Linked DNA regions of Homo sapiens: regions 1, 2 and 4 are each linked to region 3. The links are contacts of gene promoters, found by promoter capture Hi-C in blood cells and fetal thymus (Javierre and others, 2016). All regions are on one chromosome and are shown on one strand. Each heading gives the region's core, a stretch centred on a gene start or on the middle of the fragment in contact. The rest is flanking DNA. Distances are from core to core; before and after follow the strand shown.

Evidence for each region. The method cuts DNA at HindIII sites, captures the fragments that hold promoters and counts their contacts. A CHiCAGO score of 5 or more calls a contact.
Region 1: a fragment that was not itself captured here is called in contact with the fragment with the promoter of PKM in region 3 in 2 of 17 cell types (monocytes and activated CD4 T cells); the score reaches 5.2 in monocytes.
Region 2: a fragment that was not itself captured here is called in contact with the fragment with the promoter of PKM in region 3 in 1 of 17 cell types (neutrophils); the score reaches 5.5 in neutrophils.
Region 4: a contact is called between a fragment that was not itself captured here and the fragment with the promoter of PKM in region 3, in 1 of 17 cell types (neutrophils). The highest score is 5.2, in neutrophils.

What each region holds. Positions count from the first base shown.
Region 1 is chr15:72,563,437-72,566,585 of GRCh38, reverse strand. It overlaps ARIH1 (ariadne RBR E3 ubiquitin protein ligase 1), which reads right to left. Exons shown (of 14, transcript NM_005744.5): 7 at 3,086-3,149; 8 at 1-23. Among named protein-coding and RNA genes, the nearest start is that of MIR630, 22 kb to the left of the region's middle. The HindIII fragment of the contact is 4,063 bases long and covers 1-3,149 here.
Region 2 is chr15:72,688,990-72,692,235 of GRCh38, reverse strand. The region is part of intron 1 of BBS4 (Bardet-Biedl syndrome 4); the gene reads right to left. Among named protein-coding and RNA genes, the nearest start is that of BBS4, 4.4 kb to the right of the region's middle. The HindIII fragment of the contact is 7,938 bases long and covers 1-3,246 here.
Region 3 is chr15:72,229,522-72,232,773 of GRCh38, reverse strand. PKM (pyruvate kinase M1/2) reads left to right here and starts at 1,584. Exons shown (of 11, transcript NM_002654.6): 1 at 1,584-1,658. RefSeq lists silencers at 1,143-1,642, 2,203-2,712. The HindIII fragment of the contact is 11,333 bases long and covers 1-3,252 here.
Region 4 is chr15:72,492,013-72,495,360 of GRCh38, reverse strand. The region is part of intron 1 of ARIH1 (ariadne RBR E3 ubiquitin protein ligase 1); the gene reads right to left. Among named protein-coding and RNA genes, the nearest start is that of ARIH1, 19 kb to the right of the region's middle. The HindIII fragment of the contact is 1,655 bases long and covers 799-2,453 here.

The DNA.
Region 1 (3,149 bases), core at 347-2,846, 330 kb before region 3:
GCCAATTTTCTCCACAGTTAAAGCTGTTAAGTGACACAAAGAGTTAATAGAATTAAGGCCTACCTACTGTAAGCAAGTAAATAAGCCAATCATTTCATGCCTTATAGTTCCACAGTATTGTCACTAGTTTCTAGTGACTGGCAAATACAAGGAGAGAACCCATGTCTGCTTTACAGTTAATTACCTAGAATTTAGTAGTAGAACTAGCACATAGTGGGTACTCAATATGTGTGAAGAATGACTATAAGCATGAAGACACGCTTTGATGACAATTTCATAATAATTGTTGCTAAGGTGCCTCAGACTATATTGAGAAGTTTCAACCCATGCTTCATCAGTGCATTTTTAATCTTTTACTTAACACCCTAAATGAAGAATAAAAGGCTGACTTTGTAGGTTACTTATATAATTTAGTACTAATACACAGTAAACAATATATGGGAAGCAAATAGGTCACATCTTTGCATTATTTAAACAAATGAACCTCCGCCCTGTAGAGGGAAATGGTACTGGGCAAGGTATAAAACAAAAAGACTAAATACTCACTAAACATGTGTTAATCAGTAATTCACTTTTGTTTTCTAAGTTCATGACATATACACTTGTAAAAGAAGTATAATTAACAAACACAAATGCTTAAGAAAAAAATAATAAAATGACAGATTAATTAGCTAATTAAGTAATTTACGAATGGCAAAAAGTCCTTTGCTAAAGACAGAAACAAACTACTATTGATTTAAATCAGGTTAAGATAAATGGTTATTTCTGAAAAGAAAGATGGGGAATGGGAAGGAGCAGGGAACCAAGGAGCTTCAAATATATGTGTCATGTTTTATCTCTTAATGAAGAAAAACAAAATACTAATTTTGATTTAACTGGATTGTAGCTATATAGGTATTCACTGCTGTATTCTCTATACTTTTATGTTTGAAATGTGTCACGCTAAAAATACATTGGAAAGTAGGTATTATCCACCTTTTCTCTAAAATAACAATACATAATTAATCTTTATCGAAACAGTATGTATTTTACACATACTTAATCTCTGTGAGCTTACCTGCTCTTTTTGGAAATATTTATTATTAATGATGTGTTAAGTGTAATTCTATAGATGTTTGGAGGAAAAAAAGAAAGGTATGGAATACCAATAAAATATTTCCCCCTCCAAACCACCCCGCAGCAAAAAAGAAAATCTGGCTGGCCATGGTGCTTCTCACCTGTAATCCCAGCACTTAGGGAGGGCCGAGGCAGGTGGATTACTTGAGGCCAGGAGTTCAAGACCAGCCTGGCCAACAAGGTGAAATGCTGTCTCTATTAAAAATAAATACATAAATAAATAAACAAATAAATAAATAAATAAAAATTAGCCAGGCGTGGTGGCACACGCCTGTAATCCCAGCTACTCAAGAGGCACAAGAATCACTTGAACCTGAGAAGCAAAGGTTACAGTGCGAGATCGTGCCACTGCACTCCAGCCTGGGTGATGGAGTGAGACCCTCTCTCAAAACAAAACAAAACAAAAAATCTATTTGCTGGGTCTAGAGCCCCTTGACTTGATTGGCTTCTTACTCCTCAAGACCCTCAAAGGAACAGAAAATCATCTTAACTTCTAGCAGGATATAAATGTTTGTGTCCCCCTAAAATGTGTATGTTAAAACTTAATAACCAATGTGACAGTATTAGGATGTGGAGCCTTTAGGAGGTGAATGGAATTGGCATCCTTTTTAAAAAAAAAAGGGGCCCAGAGAGCTGCCTTGTCCTTTCCACCATATGAGGACCCAGCAAGTAGGCACCATCTATGAACCAGAAAAGCAGGCCCTCGCCAGACAACAAATCTTTTGGCACCTTGATCTTGGACTTCTCACCCTTAAGAACTGTAAGAAATAAATTTATGTTGTTTAGAAGCCGCCCAGTTTATGGTCTTTTGTTATAAAAGCCTGAACATTAAGACAGAAAATGGTACCAAGAAGTGAGGGTGCTGTTCTAACAAAACCAAAAATGTGAAAGCCGATTTGAAACTAGGTAGTAAGTAGAGGCTGGAAGAGCTTGGAAGTGCAAGCTAGAAAAAGCCTAGATCACTGTGAATGAACTGAATTGTTAAGGGTAATTCTGGTGAGGATTCAGAAAGACAGAAGTGCAGGGAATGCCTCAATCATAGAGAAAACCTAAATAAATGGCCATGAACAGAATGTTGTTAGAAATATGGACAGTAAAGGCCATTATGATGAGGTCTCAGATGAAAATGAGGAACATGCTGTTAGAAACTAGAGGAAAGGCCATCCTTGCTATAAAGTGGCAAAGAAGTTGGCTGAATTGTTTTGTGGAAGGTAGAGAAATGAAACTGAATATCTGGTTGAGGAAATTACTAAGCAAAGTGTTGAAGACGCAGCTTAGCTTCTCTTGAATGTTTATAGAAAATGCAAGAAGAGATGAATGACCTAGAGATAAACTGTTCATCAAAAGGAAATAAGAAGTCAAAAATTTGAAAAATTTTCAGCCTATCCACTTTGGAAAAAACTAGAACACCTATAAAGGAGCCTGAACTGATTAAGACATCCCCTAATATGTGGCACTGGAAACTTCCTGGCAGTTCAAATCTAGAATTCAGAGGCTGAAGAGTATACTATAGAACTCCAAAAGCCCAAGTTACCAAGAAAGCTGGGCGAGAGGAGCCACAGGAAAACTCTTAGTTAAAAAGGAGACCATCAGCAGAATTTACCTGCACATTTCCTTTGCATAAGTAAGGTTAAAATTTGGCAGAGTAAAGAAAAACGTATAGTCCCAGATCTACAAGTTTGCTCCCATTAAGTTACAGTGGAGCATACAGGAAGATATGATTAGAGTTGTATATTTTCTCCATAAAAAAAAATTCAAAAAAGTTAGAACATCAAGGAAAGAGGAAAAATTTTTTTAAGATGTGACCTTTTCATTCAATTCTGAAAGAGATATATACTATTTTAAACCAGTATCAAACATCTCCCTGCCTAAGGTAAACACTTTTTTTCTGCTATTTTACTACCAAGAATAAACAGGAGAAATGGAAACGCTTTGTGCACTATTTCAATTTAGGAAATCACTTGCTTACCAAAATTGGCGCCCACATTTGCAGCGAACAGGTTTAGCATCAGGATATTGGACTTTAACAACAT
Region 2 (3,246 bases), core at 159-2,658, 460 kb before region 3:
GTTACAACCACCATATAGTTTCCTGTAAGTAATAAAGTTACTCCATTACCTAGCAATCTATTTCTAGGTATACCTTAGAGAAACTCTTAGATATTGCATCAGAAGACCTACATAATAATGCTCAGGGCTAGGACTAAAGTGAGGCATGTGAAGAACCTAGGGTATAAACCTTAAGAAGGTACTTACTCTTACTCCATAAAATGTGAACCCTAAGCACCTCACTTACCTTTCCTTAGTCTTGGCCATATTTATAGCAGCTTTTTTTTTTTTTTTTTTTGAGACGAAGTCTCGCTCTGCCAAGCTGAAGTGCAGTGGCACAATCTCGGCTCACTGCAACCTCCGCCTCCTGGGTTCAAGTGATTCTCCCGCCTCAGCCTCCCGAGTAGCAGGGACTACAGGCGCGCAGCACCGCATCCTGCTAATTTTTGTATTTTTAGTAGAGACGGAGTTGCACCATGTTGGCCAGGATGATCTCGATCTCTTGACCTCATGATCCGCAGCCTCGGCCTCCCAAAGTGCTAGGATTACAGGCGTAAGCCACTGCACCCAGCAGCAGCATTGTTTTTAATAACTAAAAACCAGAAATAATCCCGATCTCCATCTAGTGGAATGGATAAGTTAATTGACATACTTTACTACAATAAGATACTATACAGTGTTGAAATAATGAATAAACTGAAGGTTAATAACAAATTTTAAAAACTAATATATTAAGGATATATATAAACATATATGGTAAAACTATAAAAAGTACAAAATATTAATATAAAATTGAAGAAACACTACATCTGATGTGGAGGAAGGAAAATGCAGTAGGAGAGAGGCATTTAGGAGGTTTCAAAGTTATTAATAACCCATTTCCTAACCTGGGCAGTAGGAACACAAGTTTCCATTATATTATCCTTTAAAGCACACATACGACATTTTAAGCACTCTTTTACAGGTAGGATATATTTCACAACAACAAAAATTAATCCTCAAAATAAAAGAGAATACTTATGTGAGGCAGGCCAATTGCTTGAGTTCAGGAGTTTAAGACCAGCCTGGGCAACATGGCAAAACCCCGCCTCTACAAAATATACAAAAATTAGCCAAGCGTGGCCTGCACCTGTGGTCCCAGCTACTCGGGAGGTTGAGGTGGAAGGATCACTTGAGCCCAAATGAGGGGCTCATTTGGTTAATGATCTTGATTTAAAAATTCACAAAAATTTATAAAGACATTTCACCAAAGAGATACGGGTGGAAAATAAACATATAAAAAATCTTCAATATCATTATTCATGAAGGAAATACAAATTAAAACCACCATACACCATCACTACCCATCCACTACAACAGCTAAATAAAAACAAACTGACAAACCAAGTGTTGACAGGGATGTGGAAAAATCACAACCCTCATGCATTGCTCATGGAAATGTTAACTCGTATATAGCCTGCAGAAGTTAGGCAGATTTGTTTCTGTTTTTTTAAACAAATACTTAAACAATATAACCCAGCAATTCCATTGACACAGGAACCCTTCTGGAGTGATGGACATGTTTTAAAAGCAGCCTCTGATGACAGCTGTGCAACTATATAAATTTACTAAAACTGATCAAACTTTGTACTTAAATTGAGTAAATTTTATGGTACGTGTATTATACCTCAACAAAACTGTTTTTTAAATGTTAACTCAATTTTTTAAAATCTAACTAGAATTTCTTAACTTTGGGGAATATACTACTAAAGAATGTTAAAGACTCAAAAAGCACCTTCAAAGGTCAGCAACCCTTCTTTCTGCACAAAGCAGAATTATTTTTTTGATGAGTCTTTTACTCAAGACTTTCCAGAACATTTTGAGATGGAAAGGATTCTATTAGCCCACTCAATCTCATTCATAGGATTTATATAGAACAAATTATTTTATTCTGTTATTTCTTCATTTTTATATAGTTTTATGATCATTTATTCATCCAACAAATATTCATGGAGCACCTGATACATAGGCACTATATCTGAGCCAGATCAACTAGTGTACTAATTTCTGTTTTCTGCTCTTATCAGTTTAATCCTTCAATTTACAGGATGACATATTTATCCAAATACATCAAATAATGGGAATCAGGGCATTATAAAAAAAATTTATAGGCTGGGTACAGTGGCTCGCCTGTAATCCCAGCACTTTGGGAGGCTGAGTCGGGCGGATCACAAGGTCAGGAGATTGAAACCATCCTGGCTAACACGGTGAAACCCCGTCTCTACTAAAAATACAAAAAATTAGCTGGGCGTGGTGGCAGGCGCCTGTAGTCCCAGCTACTCCGGAGGCTCAGGCTGGAGAATGGCGTGAACCCGGGAGGCGGAGGTTGCAGTGAGCCGAGATCGCGCCACTGCGCTCCAGCCTGGGCGACAGAGCAAGACTCCGTCTCAAAATAAATAAATAAATAAATAAATAAATAAATAAATAAATAAATAAAAAGATTTATAAGCACAAATCATGAAAGCCAGAGTTAGTTGCTCATTCATTTTTTGTTTTTTTCAGACAAAGTCTCACTCTGCCCCTGCTGGAGTCCAGTGGCATGATCATGGCTCACTGGAGCCTCAACTTCCCCCAGGCTCAGATGATCCTCCCCAGTAGCTGGGAAGACAGGCGCGTGCCACCACGTCTGGCTAATTTTTGTGTTTTTTGTAGAAATGGGGCTCCAACATGTTGCCCAGACTGGTCTCAAACCTCTGGACTCAAGTTATCCTCTCACCTCAGTTTCCACAAGTCCTGGCATTACAGGCATGAGCCACCAAGTACAGCCTGTTTGCTCATTTTTTAAGAATTCTAAACTATACTGAAAATACAAATATTAGTCCTCAGTTTTCCTTCTAAGGAACTGGTAGCAATCCGTAAGTAATTTTGGTAGCATACTAGAATTTCTGCGTCCCACACTGGGCTAGTTTTACTCAGTTTTGATGGGGTGTCTTCTGGCCTCAAGGCCTTGACTGTAGCCTTCTTAGATTTTTAGCTATACATTTCTTCAAAAATTCTGTGAGTTTTGAGTCTTTTCCTTTTCTCTCCTCCATATCCATATATCCTTATCTACGGATCTATATGTTTTCCTTTGTGTTATGAAATTAAGATCACATAATATACCCCACTTCACATCTACCTTTTATTTAAATGTACACCATGGAAGTCCCTCCAAGTCAATTAGTCGTAACATTCTCTTTTTTTTTTTTTCTTTCTGAGTTTAGGAATGGAGGTTTAATAGGCAGAAGA
Region 3 (3,252 bases), core at 335-2,834:
ATGTGATTCGCCGGCCTCGGCTTCCCAAAGTGTTGGGATTACAGGCGTGAGCCACTGCACCCAGACAATTTAGAACTTTAAAATACAATATAGTCCAGCATCGGCCAGATCCTTGCCATCCCAGTGTTGTCCACCACTGTTCTTAGTTTGTCCTCAGCTCAGGGGCCAGGGAGGGACTTTTATGCCATCCCTCTTTCTCTGATAGAGAGGAATCTAACCCTCCCTAGGGGGGCATGTCTTTTTTCCTTCTCAACAACTTCATGTTCTTTCACCACCTTAATAATCAAGCATTTCCTTCCCAACAACAACTAAAGGGACCAGGAAAGACTTACAGAAGAAAGTGAAAGATTTTTATCTCACTTCAAACAGAAATTTACTTTTAGGCTGTCACTGTCTCCTCCCAGCTTATCTGAGCTAACAGGAAGCGAATGAAGGCCTGTGATTCAGCTGCAGGCAGCGGGTATGCCTGAGCAGGTCACACCCATTTGGTCTCTTTTGCCAGGAAAATAAAAAAAGAACCTAAGAGAACGGTCTTCACATTTTGAATGCGCAACATTGTATCTGTGAATGAAGGCAAGAGTTAACAGCTGTTTAATTGATAACTGCTCGCATCATTAGTTGCTGGCTAACAACTGGGAAATCAGAAAATGTCTTGTAGAAAAATGTAAGAAAAGTTCCAACAATACTGACTTAAACACGACAAAGGTGAAAACAGAAATGCTGACTCCTGCATAGGTTATCGGCCCTAATGTTCTGACTTGATATTTCCAGATGCCCAGCTCTGCGCTAATATCAACACCGTCTATTTACTTTCTACTCTGAGGCATTCGCTCTGCAGGATTCCAGACCCTACTAAATTATTCACATGGCCCCAACCGGTCCTTCCTTGTTCCGCGGTCCTAACACAATGAATGGTCCTAAGAGGAAAACGGCCTCGCGCTCCCGCTCCAGGCCCACTTCGCAGTCCCTAGTTCTCCCTACTGCCGCTCCAGTGCCAGAGCCCCTCCGAAGGCGGCCAGGACCTCCAACCACGCACAAGTCTGCAGCTCTCCCCAACTTTCCGTTCAGCTCAGTCTCCGAGGGTGCGCCAGAGCAGACACCCGGAGGAGTGGGGAGTGGCAGGGCGGGGCCGGGAGAATGCTGCCCCGGAACCCATAAATCTGGGCCCTGCCCAGGTAGGCCGGGACAGCTGGGGTGGCCTGGGCCGAGAGCCAAGAAAAGACACCCCATCTGGCAGCCCAACTTGGCGGCAACAGGTGGCCCGGCGCCCGGGGGTCTGGGAGGAAAGTCGCTCCGGGGGCGGGCCCCGTTGCCCCGCCGCGTCCCCATTGGTCATCAGGTTTCTTAAAATGTGACTCTGAATCTGTGTCCTTCCGCCGCAGAATTTAGTCCCACCGAAAGGGCAACCTGCCCGCGCGTTCCGCCGCCGCCGCCGCGCTTCCTCCTGAAGGTGACTGCGCCCGCGGGGACGCAGGGGGCGGGGCCCGGGTCGCCCGGAGCCGGGATTGGGCAGAGGGCGGGGCGGCGGAGGGATTGCGGCGGCCCGCAGCGGGATAACCTTGAGGCTGAGGCAGTGGCTCCTTGCACAGCAGCTGCACGCGCCGTGGCTCCGGATCTCTTCGTCTTTGCAGCGTAGCCCGAGTCGGTCAGCGCCGGAGGTGAGCGGTGCAGGAGGCTACGCCATCAGTCCCCACCAAGGGCCAGTCGCCCGGCTAGTGCGGAATCCCGGCGCGCCGGCCGGCCCCGGGCACGCAGGCAGGGCGGCGCAGGATCCAGGGCGTCTGGGATGCAGTGGAGCTCAGAGAGAGGAGAACGGCTCCTCACGCCTGGGGCCTGCTCTTCAGAAGTCCCCAGCGCCGTTCCTTCCAGATCAGGCGGGTCCGCCGGCTCCTTTCCCGCCCCAGCCCTACCCCCTCATTCTGGTCCCATCCTCTTCCTCCTGCCCCAATCCTCAATGCGCCTCCATCCTCGCCTGCCTTCTCTCGGTCCCTCGTGATTGATTCCACCCTTGCTTCCCCTTTCTCCGCGCCGCCTGTTCCGTGCTCGTTTTCCCCTCTTCCTCCTTAAGTCTGGTCCTTCCACCCCCTCCTCTTCAAGCTGTGCGTGTCCCCTGATTCTAATGCTTTCTGTGTAACTCATTGAAACTGCGTTCTGGTTCCCCTCCCGCGTCCATTCTCCATTCATGCGCGACCGCCCTTCCCGCGCCCCAGTTCCCTCTCGCCGCCCCTCCCCCTGCTTGCTGGTCACGTCCGCTCCCCCGCATCCCCTTCCTCGCCTGGCGTGTCCGCTCCCTCCCTCCCTCTCTGCTCTGGTCGCGCCCGCCCACTTGCTCCGGTCTCCGAGCGCGGTCCCACCCCCCTTTTCCATCACCGCCTCCCAGCTCCCAGCAGGCTCGGGCGGTGCTGAGGCCCCGTGTCCGGGGCGGGCGGGCGGAGGGCTGGGCTGGGTGCCCCGCGCGGCGGGCGGGATGCGGCGGCCCGGGGGCAGCTGGAGACTTACGTAACGTTGGCCTGCCCCGCTGCCGGGAGGCAGGGCGGTTGCCCCTGCGGCGCGGTGCCGTCCCCTGTGGCCGGGATTAGATGGGCGGCCTGCGAGGGCCTGGGAATGGCTCGGGGCCCGAGAGCTCGACCGGCCCTTGCCGGGTGGCCGCCAGGGACCACGCTCCATCTCGCCGCGGCCGGGCTGCACGTAGCGGCCGCGCCCAGGGCCCACCCCGCTTCACCGGGCGATGGCCTTGGGCCTCGTAACGGGCGGGATAAACCTCTGCAGGCTTTGCTGGGGCCTCCTGGCCCTCGCCCGTTCCGCGCCTCTCCGGCACGTTTCTTTCTTTTCCTTTCTTTTTTCTTTCTTTTTTTTTTTTTTAATTATCCGGCACATTTTTTAACAAATGCGTCCTGATTGTGGAACGCGGAGGCCGCGGGGTGGGGTGGGGATCTGGTTACGGAGGGGGCAGGAAATCTGTCGCGTTCACTGAACGCAAACGGTGTGGGTCAAGGGCTGTTTGGGGGTCAGAGTTAGAGACCAGGATGACTAGACGAGTCATAGCCCACCGAGCTCACAATCTTAAAATGTATCTCCTGTAATGCTGGGAGTGGGGTACGAGCTTCCTGCTGTGGGAGGGAGGGGGACAGGAAGCCTCGTAAGGTCTCACCAGGTGGCAAGCACACTGGATTAGAAGATGCAGGAAAGCACCTTCCAGTCTGAAGATCATTTAAAGACTCAGTCATGTAAGGGCATCCCTTGGCTTCTTAA
Region 4 (3,348 bases), core at 377-2,876, 260 kb before region 3:
ATGAAATTAACTCTCAAAAGTAGTTCAGTGGTTTTGATTATATTCACAGAATTGTGACAGTTGTGTCAACCATTAATTTTAGAACATTTCATCACCCTAAAAAGAAACCCTATACTCATTAGCAGTCACGCCCCATTTCCCCCACTCAGCCTCTGACAACCACTGATCTACTTTCTATCTCTATAGATTTGCCAATTCAGGACATTTTGTATAAATGATACCACACAGTATAAGGGCTATCGTGACTGGTTAATTTTGCCACTTAGGCCGACAAGCTGAGAGCCTGTCATGAACACTGCCCTAGGTCTCTTTTACTGAGGGAATGGAGAGCAACTATTAACTATTCACCAAGTTAGTTAAATGAAAGTTGCTTAAAGCTTCAACTACACAATTACAATACTCACAGATGATGAAACAGAATTTATTAAAATCAAATTTACATACGAAGTCACAGAGCTGGTAAAAGGCAAAGCTGGAACTGAATGTGGTTCTAAATGACACCAAAGACTTAATCACTAAGTTTTTTTTTTTTTTCCTAATAATTCATCATTTCTCACGGTATCTTGAATGCCTTCCCTCCTCCATTCCAGCCTTGCTAACCCATTTCTTTCACAGGTTATTCTAATGGATTACTCACTACTCTCCCAGTTTCCTAATCCCGTCCTGTTCTCATTTATTTCCTATAGTACCAACAGAGTGGCCTTTTAAACTCTAATTCCTTATTAATTTAAAAGTTTAAAGTTGTTTCACGTAGTCCTAGTGAATTAAGTCCATCTCAACAGCACTACGCTAAAAGCTTTCATAATCTGATCACACTGCCTGTCTAGCCCCAGCTCCTACCACTCTACTTCCCAGTAATTTCAGCAATATTCAATTCCTTATTGTTCATTCAACATACCACAACTTCTTCCATTCCTCTTCCTCCTTTGTCTGGAATGCCACCTCTAACCCCATCTGCCTAGTAAGCTACCATTCATTTTTCAAAATTCAGCTTCCATTCCTACCAGCAAGTCGGTCCTCCCAGAGAAGAGCATTAAATATTCCTTCTCGACCTTATGCTTCTACTATGAAACAAAGCGTCGCATTATAATTTATTTATACATTATTTCTTAAAGAGTTGTCCATTATCTGTATTCCCCCAGCAGTGTGGCAGCTAAAGAAATCTCAGCTGATAAAAATAAATCAAGTACTCAATTTACAAATGGTTCCCAATTAAACTGAAGCATTATATTTAGGGACCCACTAACCTCAGAAATTCATAAACTATAACACGATTATTTAGGATCTTATAAGAAATATAAAAATCAGGTTAGGGAAGGGTTCTGCATTTATGAGAAAAGTACTAAGACATCAATAATACTGTGAGGGAGGGAACCACGTAGTTGAGGTATAAAGGCAGATATATATGTTTTTTTTAAATCTTTTGTGCTTTTTGAATTTGAACCAAGAAAATATATGTATGCACAAACAATAAAAAATTTAAAATCCTTTAAAAAAGTTTATAAACAGTCACTCTTAGCATACTAAGACTGTTTTAACTTTTTAAAAAAAATCTGAGGTTATGGAGAAAAGCTCAGTATACATCTTATTTCTATATTTTGTTTTGTACATAGAATGAAGAAAAACCTGATTCACAAAGATAAGTTTGCAATGCAATTTCAATATTCTTTGCTCAAAATGATCTAGAATCTTTAAAAAGGTAGTAGAAAACATTCTACTCAGAGCTAACTAGTTAACTGTCTAGAAAGTGCTTTTATTTTTGTAAATTCTGAGTCGGAGGAAATATACAGAACCCAAAACTATTAATATAGTAATATCAAGATGAATTATTCATTCGTTACTGCAAAACCCACCAACCCTTCAGTATCTGCAATGAGGGTATGAACAAACAGATCTGCCTGATATTTATTTAATTGAGCAGGGTGCACATGTGCTGCTGTAGTGTTCTACCTTATGTAAACTTTGCCTGAACAGACATGCACAGGCCTCAATCCAAAATACCAGTGCAGAATAATCTTTCTAATCAACAATCCATAAGAAGTAAACCCAGAATAAGCAGCAGCTTTATTCTGGGTTCTGACCTCCCCCCCCAAAAAGTGTTAGTCTGGATTAGGTTATTGCACTGCTAGTCTCCAATATGTTAAATAAGTCTTTAAAATTATAGAATCGCTATCATGAGAAGGGTTAGAACCAGGTAGGTTCAGGTAAAAAGCTACAGGAAGACAAAATCAGAGTATGAAAGAACTCTAAATCAGAGGTCTTCTGGAAGTGGCTGTGAAGGTTTAGCCAGAGTAGACATTTAAGAATAGTCTACAGGACCACTTACCAGGGAGGTAGTACTTGATATGTGGTTGGCTAGGATAACCATTAGGATCCTTCCAACCTTGTTAATTTGACTCTACATGAATCAAAAACTGTGTTGACAGTGGTATGAATCAAAGATTAGGCAAGCTTACTGCCATCCTTAAATCTTCAAATATTGCTTAATGTTATACTTTCATTCCTAAGGGTGACTAGAATACTTCTGTATATTTAAAAGTCCTATTTTCACCACTTTGGCTTTATAGCTGGGTGGAATGCAACATTATAATCAAGCTTCATACATTATCATATATCCTAAGGACCCAGCTATTATATTAATGCAATACAATTAGAGATGATTATTAAAAACAGACAACATTTTTAGGGCCAATGAAATGTAATTACTACATTTAAAAATTCTGTAACAAATCAGTGACTAAAATTATGTACATACGTTTCCAAATTTCAAAGGAACATTTCCAAATTAAATGACAAGTAATTTGAGGCCCACTCCCTAAGTTTTCCCCTTCATAAGAGGTGAAGTGGTGAACAGGTTAAAAAGTAAACATATTTTCTCACATTTGAAGTTAAACGGCATTAGTAATAAGCTCACCTGAGAACTTTACTAAAGAACTATTTTCTCATTACCGAGCAAAATAAACTGGCTCTTCTCCCTTTAAAGCAAGCATTTGTTATCTAGTGCCTCCATAACAGTTTCACGGTGCTATTCTTCCAGAATCTCTTGGTGCTTCTTTCAGAAGAATGCTGGGCTTTTTGGACCACTAGTCTAAGTTTGTAACTTCATACATAAATAACGAACAAATTTTATATAATATATATGTATTCTATTACTTTGGTCGAGAATTATTTTTTATTAAACTTTGTGTTTTTAAATGCTTAGAGTAGAAAACAGTAAATATAACAGCAATTTTGGCTTGATATTTTCTTGAGGATGGTACATATGTAAGCTGTAAAGTCTTAAATGGGGTATGTAGTAGACTTCTGACTCTATTCCACTCTTAGTCATTTATTTGGATTCAGAGGCCA